2 separate regions of the Homo sapiens genome follow, and region 1 is linked to region 2. The links are contacts of gene promoters, found by promoter capture Hi-C in blood cells and fetal thymus (Javierre and others, 2016). All regions are on one chromosome and are shown on one strand. The core of a region is centred on a gene start or on the middle of the fragment in contact, and the rest is flanking DNA. Distances in the headings are between cores, read along the strand shown.

Region 1 (2,821 bases), core at 322-2,821, 45 kb before region 2:
AATTTCTAGCTGAGGCCAGATTTATTGCTATCAAGGAAACCTGCCACCCAGAAGAGCTGGGGACCAGTCCCTTCCCGGCTTCAAGTGTCCCAGGTTTTGAACTTGGTGTTCAAGATGATCTGGGCTGAGAAGTGAGTTAGATCAGCTGTTTTTCAGCCAACTCCTTAGTCCCCACTGTCCTGGAGGGGAACAGGGTCTCTCTCTGGAAGGGGCTTCATGAGACAGGGGTTCAATCCCTCAGGTGTGAGTTTATCAGACATTTACTGAGCACTTGCCATATGTTAGGCTCCACGCCAGCAGCTGGAGGTACAGACACAATCCCCTTGGGGATCATTGAACACATCAGAACCCTTTTTTCTCAAACATGAACTTGCATATACACACCTATACACATGCTCAAAGAGACACTGAGGATTAGAGGAGGGTATAGCAAGAAGAGCTGGAACTAAACAAGCTAAGGAAAAACAGCCTTCTCCCAAATGGTCTTGCCTTTCCTCGCATAGAAGCATCTGGAAATGTCTGAAGCCCCATTTCCCTGCTCTCAAAGCCCACCTGTTATCAGGTGGAGTAGACAGAGCTCTGGGCTAGTGTGGCCAGGTGCAGTAGCTCATGTCTATTTATCCCAGCACTTTGGGAAGCCAAGCCAGGAAGATTATTTGATGCCAGGGGAATCACTTAAGACCAGCCTAGGCAACATAGTGAGACCCTTTCTCTACAAAACATTTAAAAATTAGCTAGACATGGTGGTGCACGCCTATGGTTCTAGCTACTTGGGAGGCTGAGACAGGAGAATCACTTGAGCCTAGGAGTTGGGGGATACGATTGCACCACTGCACTCCAGGGTGAGTGACAGAGTGAGACCCTGTCTCTTAAAAAACAAAAAACAAAAACAAACAAACAAAAAAACAGAAAGAGCTCTAGGCTAGATGTCAGGAGATCTGGATTCAGCTCCCAGCTCTGCTACCACAGGTGATCTTTTCCAACATGCATTTATATGCCCTTATGGATTCAGAGGTGGCATAACTCGGGTAAATAGTCTGGCTTAGCAGGGATTAGAATTTAGGGCTGACGGGCCGGGCATGGTGGCTCACGCCTATAATCCCAGCACTTTGGGAGGCCGAGGTGGATGGATTACCTGAGGTCGGGAGTTCGAGACCAGCCTGACTGGAGATGGAGAAACCCCATCTTCTACTAAAAATACAAAATTAGCTGGGCGTGGTGGCACATGCCTATAATCCCAGCAACTCGGGTGGCTGCGGCAGGAGAATCGCTTGAACCTGGGAGGCGGCGGTTGCGGTGAGCTGAGATCATGCCATTGCACTCCAGCCTGGGCAACAAGAGCAAAACTCCATCTCAAAAAAAAAAAAAAAAAAAAAGAGAATTTGGGGCTGACACCCACCTCTTAGCGCAATCCTGCCCAGGTCCCTGGGCTGTAATGAAAACAACTCCCACCTGCTGAGCATTTACTATGTGCCAGACATGTTGTGTCAAACAGTGTCTCATTCAGGCTTTAACAACCTCAAGATAGACCTATTACCATCAGCCGTGTTTTACACTTAAGAAAACTAAGTTTACTTCTCCGAGTATGGGCCCACAGCAACAGAAGCACAGTCTGAAGCCACCCTGGCATGAAAGCCAGTGCTAACATCCCATACCTCTACTGCCTTTAGGCACACTCAGTCCCTCCCCACAGACAGGATTCACTCCCCTTCCCCCATCAATAACACACTGACCCCGGCTGCCCCCTGAACAGGAAGGCCAAGCCTGAGGCAGCCTAGCGAGGTACATTCCAGCTCTCTCAGTTGCAAACACTCCCACTGCCACCACCACCTGTGGCAGAAGCGATTGCATCACCCGCAGGAAGCGGTCCAGCGGCCCAGCATCAGCTCTAAGGCACATTTTCGGTTCCTACTTCTATCCTTGACTACATTCAACAGGCTGCCCTGTCTTCCAGCCCCTGCCCTGGCCCTGTAGCTTTAGGCTAATGTGATGACTGGACATGGGACTGCAGTCTGCTACTTAGATGAGATTTGTACAGGTCCATTTTCTCATCACTGCCGGGTGGGTGAGGGGGGTCCGGCTAAAGGGGGCTTCTCAGCTAAGGACCATTCGGAGATCCTGTGGGCTCAGAGAAAAGTCCTCTCGGATGCAGGAGACAAGCAAGGGAGGGGAGTCCCAGGCAGGTACCATAACCTTATCGCTACCTTTCAATGACGTGGGCCAGCGAGAAGAAGGCCCTCAAGAGCCTGCCAACACAGCCAGGATGTCTCTGATGTGGGGGTCTCAGCCCATCCGACTGGCAGACATGCTACACTGGGCTTTGCTTTCCTCCCTCTATTATTATTTTTTTTCTTGAAACAGGGTCTCACTTTGTTACCCAGGCTGGAGTGCAGTGGTGGCACAGTCTTGGCTCACTGCAACCTCGGCCTCCTGGGTTCAAGTGATCCTCCCGCCTCAGCCTCCCCAGTAGCTGGGATTACAAGTGTGAGCCACCATGCCTGGCTAATTTTTGCATTTTTAGCAGAGACGGAGTTTCGCCATATTACCCAGGCTGGTCTCGAACTCCTGACCTCAGGTGATCCGCCCCTTCTGCCTCCCAAAGTGCTGGGATTACAGGCGTGAGCCACCACGCCTAGCCACTTTCCTCCCTCTATTGCCATGGAATCTTCTGGAACTGAGGAGAGATCCTTGTCCCTGTAGTTTCTCTTCTGCCTGTCCTGGATGTTCTTTCCCTCTCTGCCAACTTCTGTCTCCCTCCTCCTCACGTAGCACTCTTTCTTTATCTCTTCATCTCTCTTCCTACGGTGGTTTCTTCCTGCAT
Region 2 (2,835 bases), core at 283-2,782:
ACACCTCATATGATCCAGGAAAGCTTCCTGGATGTGGAGGACTTTGATGTAAAGAGTAACCAAAATTTCCTATGAGGAATCACCCCTTCCCCTCTCTCAGTCCCAAGGTGAAACACATGACTTGGTTCTGAACAATCAAAGCCCTGAATCCACTATCCCCAGTGACTGTTTGGGAGGAAGGGGTTAAGCAGGGTGACTCCTAAGTCTGAATTTGAACCTGTAAGGATAAAGTCGTGAATCTGTTACCCAATGGAGAATGACAATAAGCCAACAACAAGAGTAGAGGCGAGAAATGGAGAGAGGCCCAGTCCACATGAGTCCTGGGTTAAGCTTTATCTGAAGTCTTTTATATATAAAAGACAGTAAATTCCCTTTTCTGAGTAGGCCGATTTAAGTTGGATTTCTACTTCTTTGGAATCAAGAGTCCTGATGATTCAGAGGAAAGAAGGACTTATATAACATGAACAAAGACAGAAAGCTGGGAACTAAGAACCAGAGGGTAGTGGACAGTATCCTCAGCATCTGCCTCTGGGAAGTGCCACCTCTCTGACCATCCCCACAGTCATAAAGGAGAACTCCCCTGTACCTGGGCTTTCTTAAATGACCCTGTTCCTTCCTCAAGGTGGCTAATGCCTGTAATCGCAGCTACTGCGGAGGCTGAGGTGGGAGGATCACTTGACCCCGGGAGTTGGAGGCTGGAATGCAGTAGCCCCATGATGGGGCTACTGCACTCCAGCCTGGGCAACAGAGCAAGAAGAAGACCCTGTCTCTAAAACAAAACCAACCAACCAAACAAACAAAAAGACTCTACTCCCCTGGTCACATCTGAGCTATCACAATTTCTTCCTCAGAAAATTGAAATTGCAACAAACAGTTTAATGTCAGTCAAGGCTAGTCCCCTGAAGGGGAAAAGAGGTAACACCTTGGGAACCATAGCATGGCTGTGTTTACTGCTTGTGGACTGAGCAGAAGAGAAAGCAAGACAGTATCATCACTTTATAGATGAGGAAAACTGATGGTCAGAAAGATTATGTAGCTTGCCTAAGGTTGCACATTTGGTATGATTTTACAGAACTAGAATCCAGCTTTTTGAATTCAAGGGTGGGGCAGGAAACAGCTAGGTCAGTGGCCTAAGAACTCCGGACGGGTGAGATTTGGGGCAGACAGCAGGGGTAGTCACCCTACAAGAGTCACGCCAAGTGCAAGCACTCAGAGACATCTCCCAACACTCAAAACAGCAAAGAAGTTCTGGTGCTTTAAGTGTTCCTCGCTCGGCTCAGAGACTCGGCTTCGAGCCGCGACTCAAGACAGCACCTGGGGGTATTTGTTTTGCCTAAGCCTGCTGCACTTCCACGGCCATTGAATCCCAAAAACTACAATTCCCATTATGCACCGCGAGTTCGCGGACTAAACAGGCATAAACTACAAGCCCCAGAATGCCTTGGGCGAGACGCGAGAGCACGGAGGAGCGGAGGGGCGTGGCCACGTCGACCGCGCGGGACCGTTAAATTTGAAACTTGGCGGCTAGGGGTGTGGGCTTGAGGTGGCCGGTTTGTTAGGGAGTCGTGTACGTGCCTTGGTCGCTTCTGTAGCTCCGAGGGCAGGTTGCGGAAGAAAGCCCAGGCGGTCTGTGGCCCAGAGGAAAGGCCTGCAGCAGGACGAGGACCTGAGCCAGGAATGCAGGATGGCGGCGGTGAAGAAGGAAGGGGGTGCTCTGAGGTAGGTACGGGAGAAAGCTGCTGGGGGCTGGGCCTGAGAGGACACGGCCTGGTAGGTAATAGAAGGCTCCGCTCGGAGCAGTCGAGGGGGAGATCGGCACCGTCAGAACAGACCCCACCGGAGCCTCCTTCCTTTTGGAGTAGAATGCCGGAGGTGGAGGTGAAAACGCAGTGGACTGAGGGCACGTGCGAATCCTGCCGCATCCAGCTTCAAAGCGAAGAAGGCTGCGGGACCCCAGCGGAACAAAGAGTTTGGAAGTTGCAATGTTGTCTGTTTGTAACTCAGCTCAGCCACCTGCTAGTTGTTTGACCTTGGGCAAATCGTTTGTATGGAAAATGCTGATGTTAATGCTGCCTTACGTGGTTCTGGGGGAATTCAAAGTATTTGTTAAGTAACTGCTTCCAAATAAGCGCTCAACAAATGGCAGGTGCTATGCCAATAGCACAGAGATCTGAAAGCCTTTAGCCAATATCATAGAGATCTAAATTATGCCAATAACATAGAGATCTAAAAGCCTTTTTCTGCATGTTTGCGGCTTTTCCTTGTATTAAAAAAACTATATTGCAGTTCTAGGTTGGAAATCTGTATGTGTTTTCACTGTGGTGCCCGCAATACCTAGATAAGTGCTATGTCATGGGCTCTTTCATTCATGTAACAAGTATTTTTTTGGCTAAGCTCTGAGTGCAGCAAATATACAGACACAAAAATCTCAACCCTCATGAAGCTTAAGTTCTGGCATGGGATGAAGGTGGGGGAGTCAGACAATAAAGACAAACTGTTAGGTGGAGATGTGGTCAGTACTAAAAAAAATAATAAAGCAACTGGGTGTAGTGAATATTGGGGGTGGGGATTGGTGCAATTTAACTTGAACACTGGAGTCTCACTGAGGAGATGTCACTTTGGTCAAGACTTGAAGGAATCTCAAAAGCTAGAGGTTCTATATCTGAGGAGAGTACAAAGGCTGAGGGTGAGAGCTAGGGGAGGAAGTTGCACCTGGCATGTCCAAGGCCATTGTCACTGGAGCAGAATTAACTAGAAGAGTAAAAGGATATTATGTAAAAATGGTGAAGATGCAGATTGTAAGGACTTAGCTTTTACTCTAGTTGTAATCAAAAG

What was found. The method cuts DNA at HindIII sites, captures the fragments that hold promoters and counts their contacts. A CHiCAGO score of 5 or more calls a contact.
Region 1: a contact is called between a fragment that was not itself captured here and the fragment with the promoter of BUB1B in region 2, in 3 of 17 cell types (M0 macrophages, naive B cells and total B cells). The highest score is 5.9, in M0 macrophages.

What each region holds. Positions count from the first base shown.
Region 1 is chr15:40,114,107-40,116,927 of GRCh38, forward strand. No RefSeq gene overlaps it. Among named protein-coding and RNA genes, the nearest start is that of BMF, 6.6 kb to the left of the region's middle. RefSeq lists enhancers at 1,821-1,880, 2,206-2,709. The HindIII fragment of the contact is 4,689 bases long and covers 1-2,821 here.
Region 2 is chr15:40,159,537-40,162,371 of GRCh38, forward strand. It overlaps BUB1B (BUB1 mitotic checkpoint serine/threonine kinase B), which reads left to right and starts at 1,533. Exons shown (of 23, transcript NM_001211.6): 1 at 1,533-1,719. The coding sequence starts at 1,685. RefSeq lists enhancers at 1,667-1,766, 1,787-1,916, 1,924-2,688. The HindIII fragment of the contact is 2,113 bases long and covers 329-2,441 here.